Linked DNA regions of Homo sapiens: region 2 is linked to region 1. Evidence: promoter capture Hi-C in 16 types of primary human blood cells and fetal thymus (Javierre and others, 2016). All regions are on one chromosome and are shown on one strand. The core of a region is centred on a gene start or on the middle of the fragment in contact, and the rest is flanking DNA. Distances in the headings are between cores, read along the strand shown. Region 1 holds the start of CCL19 (C-C motif chemokine ligand 19). Region 2 has its middle 27 kb from the start of SPATA31F3.

Region 1 (7,656 bases), core at 1,417-3,916:
TCATTAATAGTACATCTGCCCATAAGAAAAGCTAAAGGGAGAAAGAAAAAACAAAAAACAAACAAAGAAATGCTAAAGGGAGACCTTCAGAATGAAACAAAAGGACAAAAAGTAATAACTTACAGCCACACAAAGAAACAAAGATCTCTGATAAACATAACAACATAGCAGGCCAGGCGTAATGAACTTCTTGGATATGTATATACATACTTTTCATCAGATTTCAGATGTTTTGTCATTATTTCTTCAATTTTTTTAATGCCCTGTTCTCTCTATTCTCCTCCTGAGACTCCTGTGATGAGGTATATTTGATGGTATCCCTGAGGCTCGTTTGGATCTCAAACTTTAGCACATATCAGAGTCACTTGGAGGGTATGTGAAAATGCAGTTTGCTGGACCCCATCCTCAGAGTCTCAGATGTGGTAAGTGGGAAGTAAAATCTAAGAATTCGTGTTTCTAACAAGCTCCCAAGTGATGCTGCTGCTGCTGCCCAAAGGCTACTCTTTGAGAACAACTGCCACAGGGGAAATTATTCACTGCCAGAACTGCAGCAAGATGAAGGATTTGGGGAATTAATACCCCTCTCTCCTTCCACCACTGATCAGTTGCTGCTTCCCATGGGCCAGCCCCAAACAGAAGCCAGAAAGCAGGTGACCCTAAGTAATGCTATCTGCAGAGGTCAGCCTTCCAGGGAGCAGAGCAGGGCCGTGAAGAGTGGAGAATGGATAGGCTGGGGCAAACAGAATAACCAGAACCATCATGGACAGAAGAATGGATAGATCAATGGAAAGAGGGGTGGATGGATGAATTAATGAACAGATACCTGAATAAAAGGATAGAAGGCCAGGCACGGTGGCTCACGCCTGTAATCCCAACACTTTGGGAAGCGGAGGCAAGCAGATCATTTGAAGTCAGGAGTTCGAAACCAGGAGTTCGAAACCAGCCTAGCCAACAAGGTGAAACCTCACCTCTACTAAAAATACCAAATTTAGCCGGGCATGATGGTGGGTGCCTGTAATCCCAGCTACTCAGGAGGCTGAGGCAGGAGAATCCCTTGAGCCCAGGAGGTGGAGGTTGCTCTGAGCCAAGATCGTGCCATTGTACTCCAGCCTGGGTGACAGAGTGAGACTCTGTCTCAAAAAAAAAAAAAAAAAAAGGACAAAAGAAGAACAATGGCTAACAGAGCTTATTGTGCGTCAGCCTCTAAGCTAAGGGCTTTACTCAGGGTTCCTCACTTAATCCTAAGAAGTAGATCTTCTACCATTCCCATTTTACAAATAAGGACACTAAGACACAGAAACTGGAGAATTTTCACCTTGTCGCAGTTAGTAAGTGGTGGAATCTGAATCCCAAGCTAGGCGCTCTGTCTGCAGAGTCTCCCTCCTCTGCACCGTGACTACCCGTGCTGTGCCATGACCAAGTGGCAGACAGGCGGTGTGGAGTGGAGGTAAAGACTGCAAACCCTAGAGCACACCTGGGTCCAAATCATGCTCCAGTACTTACTAGCTGTGTGGCTTTGTGCTCTGAGCCTCATGTTCCTTATGTGTAAAATAAGAATAATAATGTGAAAATAAGAAAAACTACATCAATGGTATTGTTTTGGGAAAGTTAAGCAAGGTAATAGTGGTAAAGTCCTTGACATAGAGCCTAGCACATAGTAAACAATCAAAAATACCATTACTATTATTATGATTAATGAATGGAAAGAAGCTAAGTCAGAAATTTAAGAGGGAAATGTTCCCCCTCCCTCTCTCCATCCAAAAGAGGGTCTAGGGTTTGGGTGACGACGGGTGACTGGGCGTTTCACATTTAGTTTCTCTTTCAAGGCCTTCTCTTCTGACCTTTCTCATAAGGATGGGAAGTCACTTGTCCCCTCCCCCATCGGCCGATTCCTTGAAATTTTAAGATTTGTCTGAATATGAGCTGGCCAGCCCCTCTCCTTAGAAATCCCCTCTTGGTTCCCAGGACTGAGAAAAGGGGGAAAATGAAGGGGGCTATTCCAAGCCAGTCTCCCTCCAGCTGTTCCTTTGACCCAGGTGTTGGACATAGGAAAACAGTAAATAGAGGAAGGGGAGGGTTTGCTGAGCCCCAGAGGCCTGAGATGTGGGATGGGGGTCCTGGGCCTCCTCCCAAGGTACCTGGCCTTTCAGCTCTGCTTGCCCCAAGGGAAGGACTGGTTCCCACATAGTGGGCAGGCACAGTGATGACCTTGGAGGCCACCCCAGGATCTCATGGTTGTCCTGAGGGTGCCAGGGAGCCTTCTTCACCACCAGCCCAAGAAAGAAGCACCAGTGAGGACAAGGGATAAACCTAAGGAAGGGAGCACAGTTCCTCACTGTGGGCCCCACCTTTGACCATCACTTCTGAACCCCAGCTTCATGGTTGATGATGCAAATGCCATCAATGGGATGACAGGGCAATCCCTCTCTCTGGAGAAACAGTGCACAGCCCCCTTTACTGGGCCAGACTGCAGACTTAAGTTCTCAGAGCAGGAGCCAAGGAAAGCAGAAGGAAAGGGCAACCGCAGGGGGAAGAAGGGGGGCAGGGTGCGATTCTGCCAGAAAGAGGGGGGCAACAGGGGAATCACAGAATGGGACATGAAGGGGAATTTCAGGCAGAGAAAGTGAAGCTCTGGCCATAAATAGGAGTCAGCTGCAGGGCTCACATTCCCAGCCTCACATCACTCACACCTTGCATTTCACCCCTGCATCCCAGTCGCCCTGCAGCCTCACACAGATCCTGCACACACCCAGACAGCTGGCGCTCACACATTCACCGTTGGCCTGCCTCTGTTCACCCTCCATGGCCCTGCTACTGGCCCTCAGCCTGCTGGTTCTCTGGACTTCCCCAGGTAAGGCTGAAGGGAGAGTCAGGGTCAGAGGCAGTGGGGGGCTGGCAGTGGGTAATGTCTAGATCTCAGATTGCTTGGCACTGGACGTAAGGGACATGGTGAGTTCAGGCAAATGCTTAGGTCTGTATATTTCGGTGAGCCTGGCAGGTCCCTGCATGTGTGCCTGTAAGTGTGGGTGTCCCTGTGCCCCTGAATCCCAATGCGGGTGTGTCTTTTAGCACATCCTGGGGCCTATGGCTGTGACTGTCTCTGCAAGCTCTATTTCCTGCTGCCTCCGTTTCCCAGGCAGAAGGAGATTTGCTTAAGGTAGGGAGAATGGCAGACACTAAGCCAAGGCTGATATTCAAAAATTTTAGCAATTAATAAGGCTCCTAACACCAGCCTACCCTACCCCACGCCCCTCCCACACTGTGACCTGCATTAACTCTTTACTTGCTGGATTGTCCTGGGAGAGAGGTTGGGGTGATCAGGGCAGCAGGAAGTCATTTGTGGGGCTCAGGGCAGTGGTTATTTACAAAACAGTTTAGAAGTATGACAATATATTTAGCAACCAGTAGAGCCAGAGCCATATTGGTGCATAATGGCTGAATACCAGGTCTAACTCCTCCCCGACCCCACCAGACACACACACACACACACACACACACACACACACACACACACACAGGTGTCCTCAATCCGAGCTAGGGCCATGGCCATGCCACCCTCAAGGGTCCCTGTGTCCTGTCACCTTCTTTCCCCATCCCAGCCCCAACTCTGAGTGGCACCAATGATGCTGAAGACTGCTGCCTGTCTGTGACCCAGAAACCCATCCCTGGGTACATCGTGAGGAACTTCCACTACCTTCTCATCAAGGATGGCTGCAGGGTGCCTGCTGTAGTGTGAGTTGTGGGGAGGGTGTCTAGCCTCATCTCCCGTTTTAGCCCCTGTTGAGACTCCCACCTTCTTATTCCCCTTCTCCATGCCAAGCCCAACCCCTTCAAGGAAATCCCTGAAACAGGTTCCCAGACATGGTCCCCAGGCATGCTGGATTCTGGGGCTCCATTCTCTCCGGCCTCTCACCCCAGGTTCACCACACTGAGGGGCCGCCAGCTCTGTGCACCCCCAGACCAGCCCTGGGTAGAACGCATCATCCAGAGACTGCAGAGGACCTCAGCCAAGGCAAGCCTGGCCCTCCCTGGCCCTGTCTCCTCCCTCTGAGCTCCTGTCTAAGATTCCAGCCCATGATCCTTCCTCTCCTTCCTCCTCTAGATGAAGCGCCGCAGCAGTTAACCTATGACCGTGCAGAGGGAGCCCGGAGTCCGAGTCAAGCATTGTGAATTATTACCTAACCTGGGGAACCGAGGACCAGAAGGAAGGACCAGGCTTCCAGCTCCTCTGCACCAGACCTGACCAGCCAGGACAGGGCCTGGGGTGTGTGTGAGTGTGAGTGTGAGCGAGAGGGTGAGTGTGGTCAGAGTAAAGCTGCTCCACCCCCAGATTGCAATGCTACCAATAAAGCCGCCTGGTGTTTACAACTAATTGATCACAACCTGTTACAGATTTCTTTGTTCTTTCTCCACTCCTACTGCTTAACTAGCCTTAAAAAAAAAAAAAAAGGCACCTGGCACCCATAGATCTGTCTGCTGTCCGTTTGCTGTCTAGCCAGGTGGACAGGAATAGGAAGGGGGAGGTGGAATGGCAGGATCTATTTTCTCTTCTGTGGCCTAGGGGGTCTCCTTGCTCACCTCCACTTAACAACCTGATGCTCTCAGGATCAGCCTCATTGCTTTCCATAGTTCAGCGACACTAAGCTTGGGTCAGTTCCCTGAATGAGCCAGCGTCTCATGCCTCCCACTCTTTGCTCTCCAAGGCAGGTGTTCAAGCATCCAGGTGTCTAAGGAATCCAGTGTCACTGGGGGGAAGGGAGTTGTGGGGAACCAGCTCTCACGGCTGGGGGAGGTGGAGTGGGGCAAAGGGCCCAGCTCTACTGCCTGGGGGAAAATACCCATCCACCCATGCCCTTCCCTTGGTCTGGCACACTCTTCTCTCTCCTCTGCCCACCTGGCTTCCCATCTGGGTCCAGACGCCTCTTCCTCCAGGAAGCCTTCCCTGACCCCAGGCTGGGTTAGGTAGCCTCCTGCAGTGGCCCCTCACAGCATTCATCACCCTGACTTATAGTTGCTGGTTTGTCCAAATTTGTCCATGTTCTTGGACTGGGATCACATCTATTTTGGGTTCCACTGTTTTTGTGGTGTCCAGCATGCTGCTTGGCACAAGGCAGTCCCTCAATAAATATTTGTTTAGAGAATGAATAAATATGTGAGGAAAGGCTCAGCAGCCAGGGCTGAGGGTCCATCTGTTCATTCTGTCCATACAGAATCTGACCTCCAGGCCAGCCTTCCTCTCTCAGCCAAACTGAGCAAGGTCCAGCCCCATCTTTGCAATCCTGGGGCCATGCCTCTCAGGGACACCGACAGACAGACCTGGGAGTCAGAGGTCAGAGACAGGAGAGAGGCCCACGGGGTGGAAGAAGGAGTAGCCAGGGAAGCACAGGAGATTCCACATAGAGGAGCCCTACCACCACCCCTACAGTCTACATGGGCTCCAGGGCTCAAAGGCAACACTGAGACCAGAGACATCTCCCCAGATGAGACCAGAAAGGAATCTCAGCTCTGGGAGATGAGAGCCGTGTGACTCTTGGAGCATCCCACAGGGCTTCTCTGTACAGAGTGAGTGCCTCGTACTTGAGAAGTCTCCTGGGGAAGCAGGCTAGCCTCCAGACAGTGTTCTCTAAGGGCCTCTCCAGCTGGGAGTGACAAGGCTGTGCCACTGGGGTCAGATGACAGCAAGGAGGCCAGATTGAGCACCCTTGCTTGGGAAGAGAGGTGTCATTATATCGGGTATACGTCAGCCAGCAACAAAACCAGGCCTGGGCAGGCCTTGAAAAGGGAGAAATGGTGAGGGAGTTGTGAAAGCCCCTCCTCACTGAGAGCATGACATCCTCTTCCTCTCCTCTGCTCCCAGATGCAGGTGCTCAAAACCTTGGGTATCCCAGGTCTCAGAATCACCTGGAATACCAGGTGGGTGGGAGGGATAGGGATAGTTTTCAAGAAAAGCTGCAATAACCCATCCATTCATGCATCCATGCATCCATTCATTCAGCTGTTTCTGCATTCATCAGACCTCCATCCAGCCAACTGTCCACTCACGCACTTCCCACCCAGCCATTCTTTCATCCATCCACCAAGCCAGCCAGCCATGGCGTTCTAGGTCTCCCAGCTGTGGACCCCGTGCCCCGCATCCCAGCAGGCTGGTGTCTCAGAGGACAAACACACATGGGAGGGGAGCACATTGCCTGAAATCCTTCTCAGTGCCAGTGACATTTAGAGGAAGTCAGCCTGCCACAGAAGCAACAAAAGTGATCTTTCTGGACTATCGGAGGAACACACAGACGGAGCAGGGCAGGTGAGAGTGGGAACCTTGAAGAAGATGCTACCAGGATAGGGGCCCCTGGACGCTACCTCCATGACACTGCCGCCAGGAGGTACAGAGCAAATCCTGAATTCACTGCCTGGGCCAGAGTCCCATGATCCTGTCTCTGCCCCACTCATTGTGTGACTCTGGGCAAGTTCCTTTTCCACTCTGCACCCGGAGATCCAGTTTCCCCATTTGTCAGATGGGAGAGAGGAGCTTGATTTTTGAGACTCCTTCCAAACAAAGACTTGGCTCCTGAATCTTTGGTTCTCATGCTAAACCGCCAGCATTTGCATAGACACCCCACAAAGTCTTGCACATACAGAAAACTCTCCCTGGGGCCACCCTCTGAGATCAAAGGAGATGCTGAGGCTCATAAAAAGAGAAAATAATCTAGGAGCTAGTGAAGTGCCTTGGATTCAATTGACCCTGGAAGCCTGGGAAATGAAGAACTTGGAGGAAATCTGAAGGGGTGGACACCAGAGTCCCAGGGGAGCTGGCATGCAACCCTCCCCACCCCTTCTACAGCCAATGCTTTCCATCCTAGCTTTCTGCCTTCCTCTTTTTCCCACCCCCCAACCATACCAACCCATCCTGGGCACTGGGTCTTACCCCCTTATCTCCCTGCCAGGTACAATTGCCCAGCAATCTGAGCAATTGGAGCAACTGAGCATCCTGCCCCACTCTAACATTCTCAGCACTGTGACTACATTTAATCAACATCTGCTTCCTCTTTCACGGTGAGTCACTGACAATTGTTGCATTTTCATTTATCCAGAGTTCTGGTGGGCCAGGAGCCCACCAGAGATTGTCAGATCTCTGAGGAGTGGTGTGGACTCCTAGCTTCCCAGTTAGGATGTGGAGGCCTTGTTGCCTGCCTATAGATAGACACCTTCTTCTCTAGCGCACATGGCATCTGTTACAGGTTCAAGGCCTGCAGCTGGGTGATACCTCCCATCCTAAAGGCCAATATCTCAGCAGCCAATATCTCCCTAAAAGTATCTGACATCCCTTCTCAGGTTGCTCTTAGCCTTTGGGGGATGAAAATCTCCCTTTCCTATTTGTTGAGGGAGCTCCCAAGGGAGAGGTTGGGCCTCATCCAACTCCATTGCTAACATTGCTCTGCCAGGGTCTGGCATGAAATAAGCCCCAATACACATATGATTAACAAAAATGGAACTGAACATGGCCTTTTCCCACCATGCCCCGCCCCCCACCAGGAGCACATCCAGTTCTCAAGACAGCTGGGGCTATCTCTGTTGTGTGGTTGAGCGTTTGTTCAGAGCCAGCTTCATACGGTTTTGATCATCTCATATTCAACTTCTCGGCAGGCAAGCTCCATGTCACTC
Region 2 (7,656 bases), core at 2,797-5,296, 180 kb before region 1:
AGTGGGCAAAGGACATGAACAGACACTTCTCAAAAGAAGACATTTATGCAGCCAAAAAACACATGAAAAAATGCTCATCACTGGCCATCAGAGAAATGCAAATCAAAACCACAATGAGATACCATCTCACACCAGTTAGAATGGCAATCATTAAAAAGTCAGGAAACAACAGGTGCTGGAGAGGATGTGGAGAAATAGGAACACTTTTACACTGTTGGTGGGACTGTAAACTAGTTCAACCATTGTGGAAGTCAGTGTGGCGATTCCTCAGGGATCTAGAACTGGAAATACCATTTGAGCCAGCCATCCCATTACTGGGTATATACCCAAAGGATTATACATCATGCTGCTATAAAGACACATGCACACGTATGTTTATTGCGGCATTATTCACGATAGCAAAGACTTGGAACCAACCCAAATGTCCAACAATGATAGACTGGATTAAGAAAATGTGGCACATATACACCATGGAATACTATGCAGCCATAAAAAATGATGAGTTCATGTCCTTTGTAGGGACATGGGTGAAATTGGGAATCATCATTCTCAGTAAACTATCGCAAGAACAAAAAACCAGACACCGCATATTCTCACTCATAGGTGGGAACTGAACAATGAGATCACATGGACACAGGAAGGGGAATATCACACTCTGGGGACTGTTGTGGGGTGGGGGGAGGGGGGAGGGATAGCATTGGGAGATATACCTAATGCTAGATGAAGAGTTAGTGGGTGCAGCGCACCAGCATGGCACATGTATACATATGTAACTAACCTGCACAATGTGCACATGTACCCTAAAACTTAAAGTATAATAATAAAAAAATAAAAAATAAAAAAATAATAAAAATAAAAATAAATTGCTGTTTACATTGGCACTCAAAAGGAAAAAAGAAATACATAGGTATAAACCTAACAAACTATGTACCAGATCTTTATGAGGAAAACAAATAAATATATACATATGCAAAACCCTGATGAAAGATATCAAGGAAGAACTAAATAAATGGAAAGATATTCAACATTCATGAATAGGAAGACAATATTGTCAAGATCTCAGTTCTTCACAACTTGATCTACAGCTTTGATGCAATCCCAATAAAAATTCCAGCAGCTATTTTATGGATAATGACAAATTGCTTCTAAAGTTTAGATGGAGAGGTAAAAGACTATCTCAACATGGAAGGAGAAGACCAAGGTTGGAGGACTGATACTACTCAACTTCAAGACTTATTATAAAGCCACAGTAATCAAGACGGTGTGGTAGTGGTGAAGAACACATAAATCAATGGAACAGAATAGAGAGCCCAGAAACAGATCCACAGAAATATAACTGATCTTTGACAAAGGAGAAAATGGTGCTGGAACAACTGAACATCAATATGCAAAAATGAACCTAGACACAGACCTTACATCCTTTACAAAACTTAATTCAAAATGGATCATAGACCTAAACATAAAACAGAAACCTAAAAAACCCCAAAAGATAACATAGGAGAAAACCTAATGGACCTTGGGTATGATGATGACTTTTTAGGTATAACATCAAAGTCATGATCTGTGAAAGAAATAATTGATAAGCTGGACGTCATTAAAATGAAAAAAGTCTTCTCTCTGAAAGACAATGTCAAAAGAATGAGAAGACACACCACATACTGGAAGAAAATATTTGCAAAATACACATCTGGTAAAGGACTGCTATCCAAAGTATACAAAGCACTCTTAAAACTCGACAATAATAAAATAAGAACTGAATTTAAAAATGGGCAAAAGACTTGGACTCCTCACCAAAGAAGGTATACAGATGGCAAGTAAACATGTGAAAAGATGTTCCACACCATATGTCCTTAGGGAACTGCAAATTAAAACAACAAGACAAGATTACATAGCTATTAAAATGGCCAAAATCCAAAACATTGACAATAGCAAATGCTGGCAAGGATGTGGAAGCAACAGGCACTCTCGTTCATTGCTGGTAGGAAAATAGCACAAACACTTTGGAAAACAGGCTGGTAATTTCTTATAAACCTAAATATATTCTTGCCATATGATCCAGCAAGTGAGCTTCTTTGTATTTATCCAAATGAATTGAAAACTTATAGCCACACAAAAACCACATGGATGTTTATAACAGCTTTACTCATGATTTCCAAAACTTGGAAGCAACCAAGATGTCTTTCTATAGATGAATAAACTTTAGTATGTCCATACAATGCAATATTGCTCAGCATTAAAAAGAAACGAGGTATGAAGCCATGAAAAGACACGGAAGGTGGTCTTTGGGTTGATTCCATGTCTTTGCCATTGTGAATAGTGGTGTGCACCTGTGGTCCCAGTTACTTGGGAGGCTGAGCTGAGAGGATTGCTTGAGTCCAGGAGGTCAAGCCTGCAGTGAGACATGATTGTACCACTGCACTTTAGCCTGGGTGGATGAGACCCTGTCTCAAAAAAAAAGACATGGAAGAACCTTAAATACATACTGCTAAGTGAACGAAATCAATCTGAAAAGGCTACATACTGTATAATACCAATTATATGACATTCTGGAAAAGGGTAAAACTATGGAGACAGTAAAAGGGTAAGTAGTTGCCAAAGGTTACGGGGAGGGATGAATGAATAGGTAGAGCACAGAGAATTTTTTTTTCTGGGCAGTGAAACTATTCTACATGATACTAACAAGGGTCGATTCACACTTATCAAAATATATATATTTATACATTTATGCAGTATTACTATCCATTATATACTTATCAAAATCCATAGAATGCACACTTCCCCAAGAGTGAACTCTAATGTAAATGATGGACTTTGGGTGATAATGATGTGTCAATGTAGGTTCATCAGTGGAAACAAGTTTAGGACTGTAGTGCAGGATGTTGATAGTGGGGAAGGTTTTGCTGGGGTGGGGGCATATGCAAGCTTTTTGTACTTTCCACTTAATTTTACTGTGAACCTAAAACTGCTCTAAAAAATAAAGCTTATTAATTTAAAAAAACAACAAAAACAAATACCTGATGAGAAAGACTGGCCTCCATTGTGCTGGAGGAAGTTCTAAGAAAAAGAAATTGTAAAGAAATGAAATGACAAAGGTGCCACAAATTATGCCTAATGATTACTTTTTTGGTTGAAAACTGGGAATTTCTGCCTTCCTAACAAGGATGAAAAGTCAGATAATTTGTGGTGAGGACTCAAAAAGAACCTCAAAAAGTGGGATAAGAAGGTAGATTAGGGTCATCTGGCTATATAAACTAAAGAAAATGAAGGCAGATTATAGCCTGAATCTTTCCTTGGTACTATTGCAGCCAAAAACAAAACAAACAAAAAAACCTCTCTAGATGTATCTGTAAGGTAGTAAGATATATGCAGGCAGTGTGTATGTGTGTGTGTGTGTATACAAAACACACACATTTCTCTGCAGAGAACTTGCTTATTTGTAAGGGTAAAGTGGGAGGCAGGGGGAGCTGTTCTGCAGCAGGAGAAGGAGAAGACATTCATATGGCCAAGAAACATGAAAAAAAGCTCAACATCACTCATCACTAGAGAAACACAAATAAAAACTACAAGGAGATAACATCTCACGTCAGTCAGAATCACGATTATTAAAAAGTCAAGAAACAACAGATGCTGGCCAGGTTGTGGAGAAAAAGGAATGCTTTTACACTGTTGATGGGAGTGTAAATTAGTTCAACCATTATAGAAGACAGTGTGGTGACTCCTCAAAGATCTAGAAGCAGAAATACCATCTGATCCAGCAATCCCATTACTGGGTACATACCCAAAGGAATATAAATCATTCTATTATAAAGATACATGCATGCATATATTCATTGCAGCACTATTCAGAATACCAAAGACATGGAATCAACCCAAATGCCCATCAATGGTAGACTGGATAAAGAAAATTGTGCACATACATACCATGGAATACTATGCAACCATAAAAAGGAATGAGATTATGTCCTTGGCAGGGACATGGATGGAGCTGGAAGCCGTTATCCTCAGCAAACGAACGCAGGAACAGAAAACCAAACACTGCATGTTCTCACTTATAAGTGGGAGCTGAACGATAACACATGGACACATGGTGGGGAACAACACACACTGGGGCCTGTCATGCAGGGCTGGGAGAGGAAGAGCATCAGGAAGAATAGCTAATGGATGCTGGGCTTAATGACTAGGTGATGGGTTGATCTATACAGCAAACCACCATGGCACACATTTACCTATGTAACGAACCTGCACATGTACTCCAGAACTTAAAGTTGAAGGAAAAAAAAAGAGAAGGAAAAGAAGAAATAAGAAAGCATTTAGGGAACCTCCCTCCTTTACCTCTCTCTATAAGGATAAGTAGCTGTGAAAGTCTGATGAGCAGCCTCCTAATCAGTTGCAACCAGAGCTCTCTCATACTGCTATGTTAAATGCAAATATAAAAGATGAGCCTTTGCTTTCATTTGATTCTTGATATGGGGGTGACAACTTTTTGGAAGACTCAAAAGAATGACAGTGATTTCCTGTTAAAAGTGACAGAGCTTCATTAGGCAAAAACAAATAAAAGAAATCTCTGAAAGGGAGAATGGGTGGAAGCAACCACAGGGTGTTCAATAGGAAGAAAATGAAGCCCCAGTTTTTCATAGAGAACAGGACAGAGGAAAACGAATCGAGATAGTTCTCACTGCCTTCCACAGAGCATGTGTTCTATATACTTTGTTGAATGAATGTTACAAAGATGACTGGACAACATAAAATGTTTGAGATAATGGTGTCATGATTCTTTCTTTTTCTCAAATTGGGCCAGAAAGACTGATCAGACCAAATCTTCAAACTGAATTCCAGGAACTACAAAGTCTTCAGCTCATCACACCCACTCTGCTTCCCCAGAAGTAGAGCCTGAACTGTGAGTCAGGGCTAGCAAGGATGAGAACAGGTAACCCATATGCTAAGTATGGGTGATTTTTCTGATCACAGAGGAGAGCTACAAAATTTTGGAATTTAGCCAGTTTCCGCAACCACAATGATTAGAAAAGAGAGACCATCACTACCAAAATCAACAGTCCCCTGCATTTATGTTGTGTCCTTTAGACTTGTGGCGGGGCACAAGTAGGAAGCTTTGAAAATGCATATCCTCTGTCTTGGGTCTAAGCTGGAGAAATTTAGCAACAGTATCTACACTTACAGGTGAAAATTTTCAGAGTGGTTGACAATTGGTTCCTGAAAACATATGCCTGAAGAATTGTTTGAGAGCCTTATGAAAAGCCACATACCTAACATAGAAGTTGACCAGCCTCAAGGGTATGGAAAACCAACAGAACTAGGGTCTATAAAAAGTACAGAATGCATGGCACAAATCCTGAGCTCACTGTTCACATCAGCATCAACCCTGAGACTTTTAACAAAAACCATCAAAAGGAGTCCCTATCCTCTGCGGTCTTTAAGGGAATCCAAGCCCCAAGGGGTCTGATTGTTCTCCAGTGACTGGCTGTTCCTTAGGAAATCCAGTGCCTTACTACAGTGCTCTTGAAGCCTGTTCCTACTCAGCCATTCTGTCACTTGGCAGTAGCCTACAGGCTATTTTTAGTTTTCATGTTTGTAGACCCTGAAGGGGTCTACCTGGTACCTCCCCACCTCTCTCCATTACCTCTGTTTGTCCAAGAAAACAGTCACCTCAACTGCACAGGCTACACTCAGCAAATGTTTATAAAAGAAGCAAACAAGTGGATGGTGATTTACATGGGGTGTAATAATTGCATTAAATGGGAACTGAATCTGTTCATCAGGGACCTAGTGCAGAGAACAGGGAGTGCCTCTCCATTTTGCTGAAAAACTTTGCTTCCTAAGTGCAATCCCACTAGCCAATCACTGATGGTGTGATGTTCTTTAACTGTTGCTCTGCTTCTGTGGGAAGTCAGCACCGTGGCTTTAAATGAAGACTTCAGCCCAGACCCCCAGAGGCTGAAGATCATGCCATAATTTTATTCTCATGTATATTGAGATTTTCGAGCTTTCAGTAAATATTATACAGCAGCAGGACTTTCCTCATGCCTCATAGTCTAGAGCTGAGGCCAGGAGGATTTAGTTTCAGTACTTGAAAAACCCAAAATAGTTCTGTTAATTTAGGATGGCCATGCTTTCCTGAGATGACTGAGGCTAGTGCTGCTGTGCTGGATAAACATGGTGAATGGAGGGACAGTTGGTCTACAGAAATGGAAACTAAAAATAGCATGTAAGTTACTGCCAGGTGACTGGCTAGGCTGGCTATCAACAGGCTCCAAGAGCCCTGCAGTGAGGTACTGGATTTCTAAAGCAATAGCAAGTCCCTGGAAAATAGGCAGACCAGGGGGCTGGATTTCCTCAATGAGCAGGAGTATCATGAAGGAGGTAAAAGGACACTCTTTTTTATGGCTTTGGTTAGAGTCTTATTAGGGTTGATGCCACCTAGATGTGCACTGAGCTCAGGGTCAATGCTATGCATTCTGCATTTTTTTTATAGGCCCTGGTTCTGTTGGTTTTTCATAACCTTGTGGCTGGTCACCTTTTATGTAAGGTACGTGGCCTTCCCTGAGGTTCTCAGACAATCTTTCAGGAACATGCTTCCAGGAGTCAATTGCTGACCACCTTGAAAGGTGTTTCATGAGCTATATCTTGAAAGATGAGTAAGAGTTTCTGCAATAGATGAAGAAAAATTATTCCACGAGGAGGGAAAAAGCACACAGAAAGGCAGGCACACAGCTCTACAGGGACCCCACTGTGGCTTAAATGGTGTGAAACTTGCCTTAGTGCTGGGTAGAAACAGGCAAGGAACTCTGCTTTCACCTAAGAATTATCATTATTCCAAAGAGTTGGTGGGAAATAGTATGCTTAAAGTATTTGTTTAGCAGGAAATATATTTGGATTTCAGGAATTAAAAATAATCTGACCCAGAGAACTAGATATTCTGAGGACAGGGTGGCAGCCCCACCTCCTGATATTCATGACATTGTATAATTGCCTCACTTTAGCAGCTTGTCTTTGACCAATTGAATAGGGCAACACTGAGGTGTGTCATCTTCCATGAGTAAGTTACAAAAGATTATTACTTGTGACTTGCTAGCTGACTTTCTATTGCCTTGTGTTCACACTTTTATGAAGCAGCTACACTGGAGAGGCCCCACATGGCCAGGAACTAAAGGTGACCTGTGTCAAACAGCCAGTGAGGAACTGAAGTTCTCAGTCCAAAAGAGCATGAGGAAATGAATCTTGCCAACAATCACTGAGTGAGCTTGGAAGCAGAACCTTCCCCAGTTGAAACCTCAGATGAAACCACAGACCCTGGGCTGATACCTTGATTTTGGCTTGTGAGAGACTGAAGCAGAGGACCCAGTTAAGCTATGCATTTTACTTTTTGTGTATCCATTGTATGTTTTTTGATTTGAGGTTACTACCATGAAGCTTTCATTTATTTTTTTTATTATTTTTATTTTATTTATTTACTTTTGAGACAGAGTCTTGCTTTGTCACTCAGGCTGGAGTACAGTGGTGCAATCCCAGCTCACTGAAACCTCTGCCTCCTGGATTTAAGCGATTCTCCTGTCTCAGCCTCCCGAGTGGCTGGGATTACAGGTGCCCACCACCACACCTGGCTAATTTTTGTGTTTTTAGTAGAAGCAGGGTTTCACA

The links. Contacts are between HindIII fragments. The CHiCAGO score rates a contact against its expected background, and 5 or more counts as called.
Region 2: a fragment that was not itself captured here is called in contact with the fragment with the promoter of CCL19 in region 1 in 1 of 17 cell types (endothelial precursors); the score reaches 5.1 in endothelial precursors.

Annotation. Positions count from the first base shown.
Region 1 is chr9:34,686,286-34,693,941 of GRCh38, reverse strand. It overlaps CCL19 (C-C motif chemokine ligand 19), which reads left to right and starts at 2,666. Exons shown (of 4, transcript NM_006274.3): 1 at 2,666-2,851; 2 at 3,600-3,732; 3 at 3,919-4,012; 4 at 4,103-4,372. The coding sequence starts at 2,803. The coding sequence ends at 4,123. It also overlaps a transcript of PHF24 not described here. The HindIII fragment of the contact is 13,722 bases long and covers 1-4,646 here.
Region 2 is chr9:34,865,382-34,873,037 of GRCh38, reverse strand. It overlaps a transcript of PHF24 not described here. Among named protein-coding and RNA genes, the nearest start is that of SPATA31F3, 27 kb to the left of the region's middle. RefSeq lists an enhancer at 2,061-2,562. The HindIII fragment of the contact is 2,128 bases long and covers 2,983-5,110 here.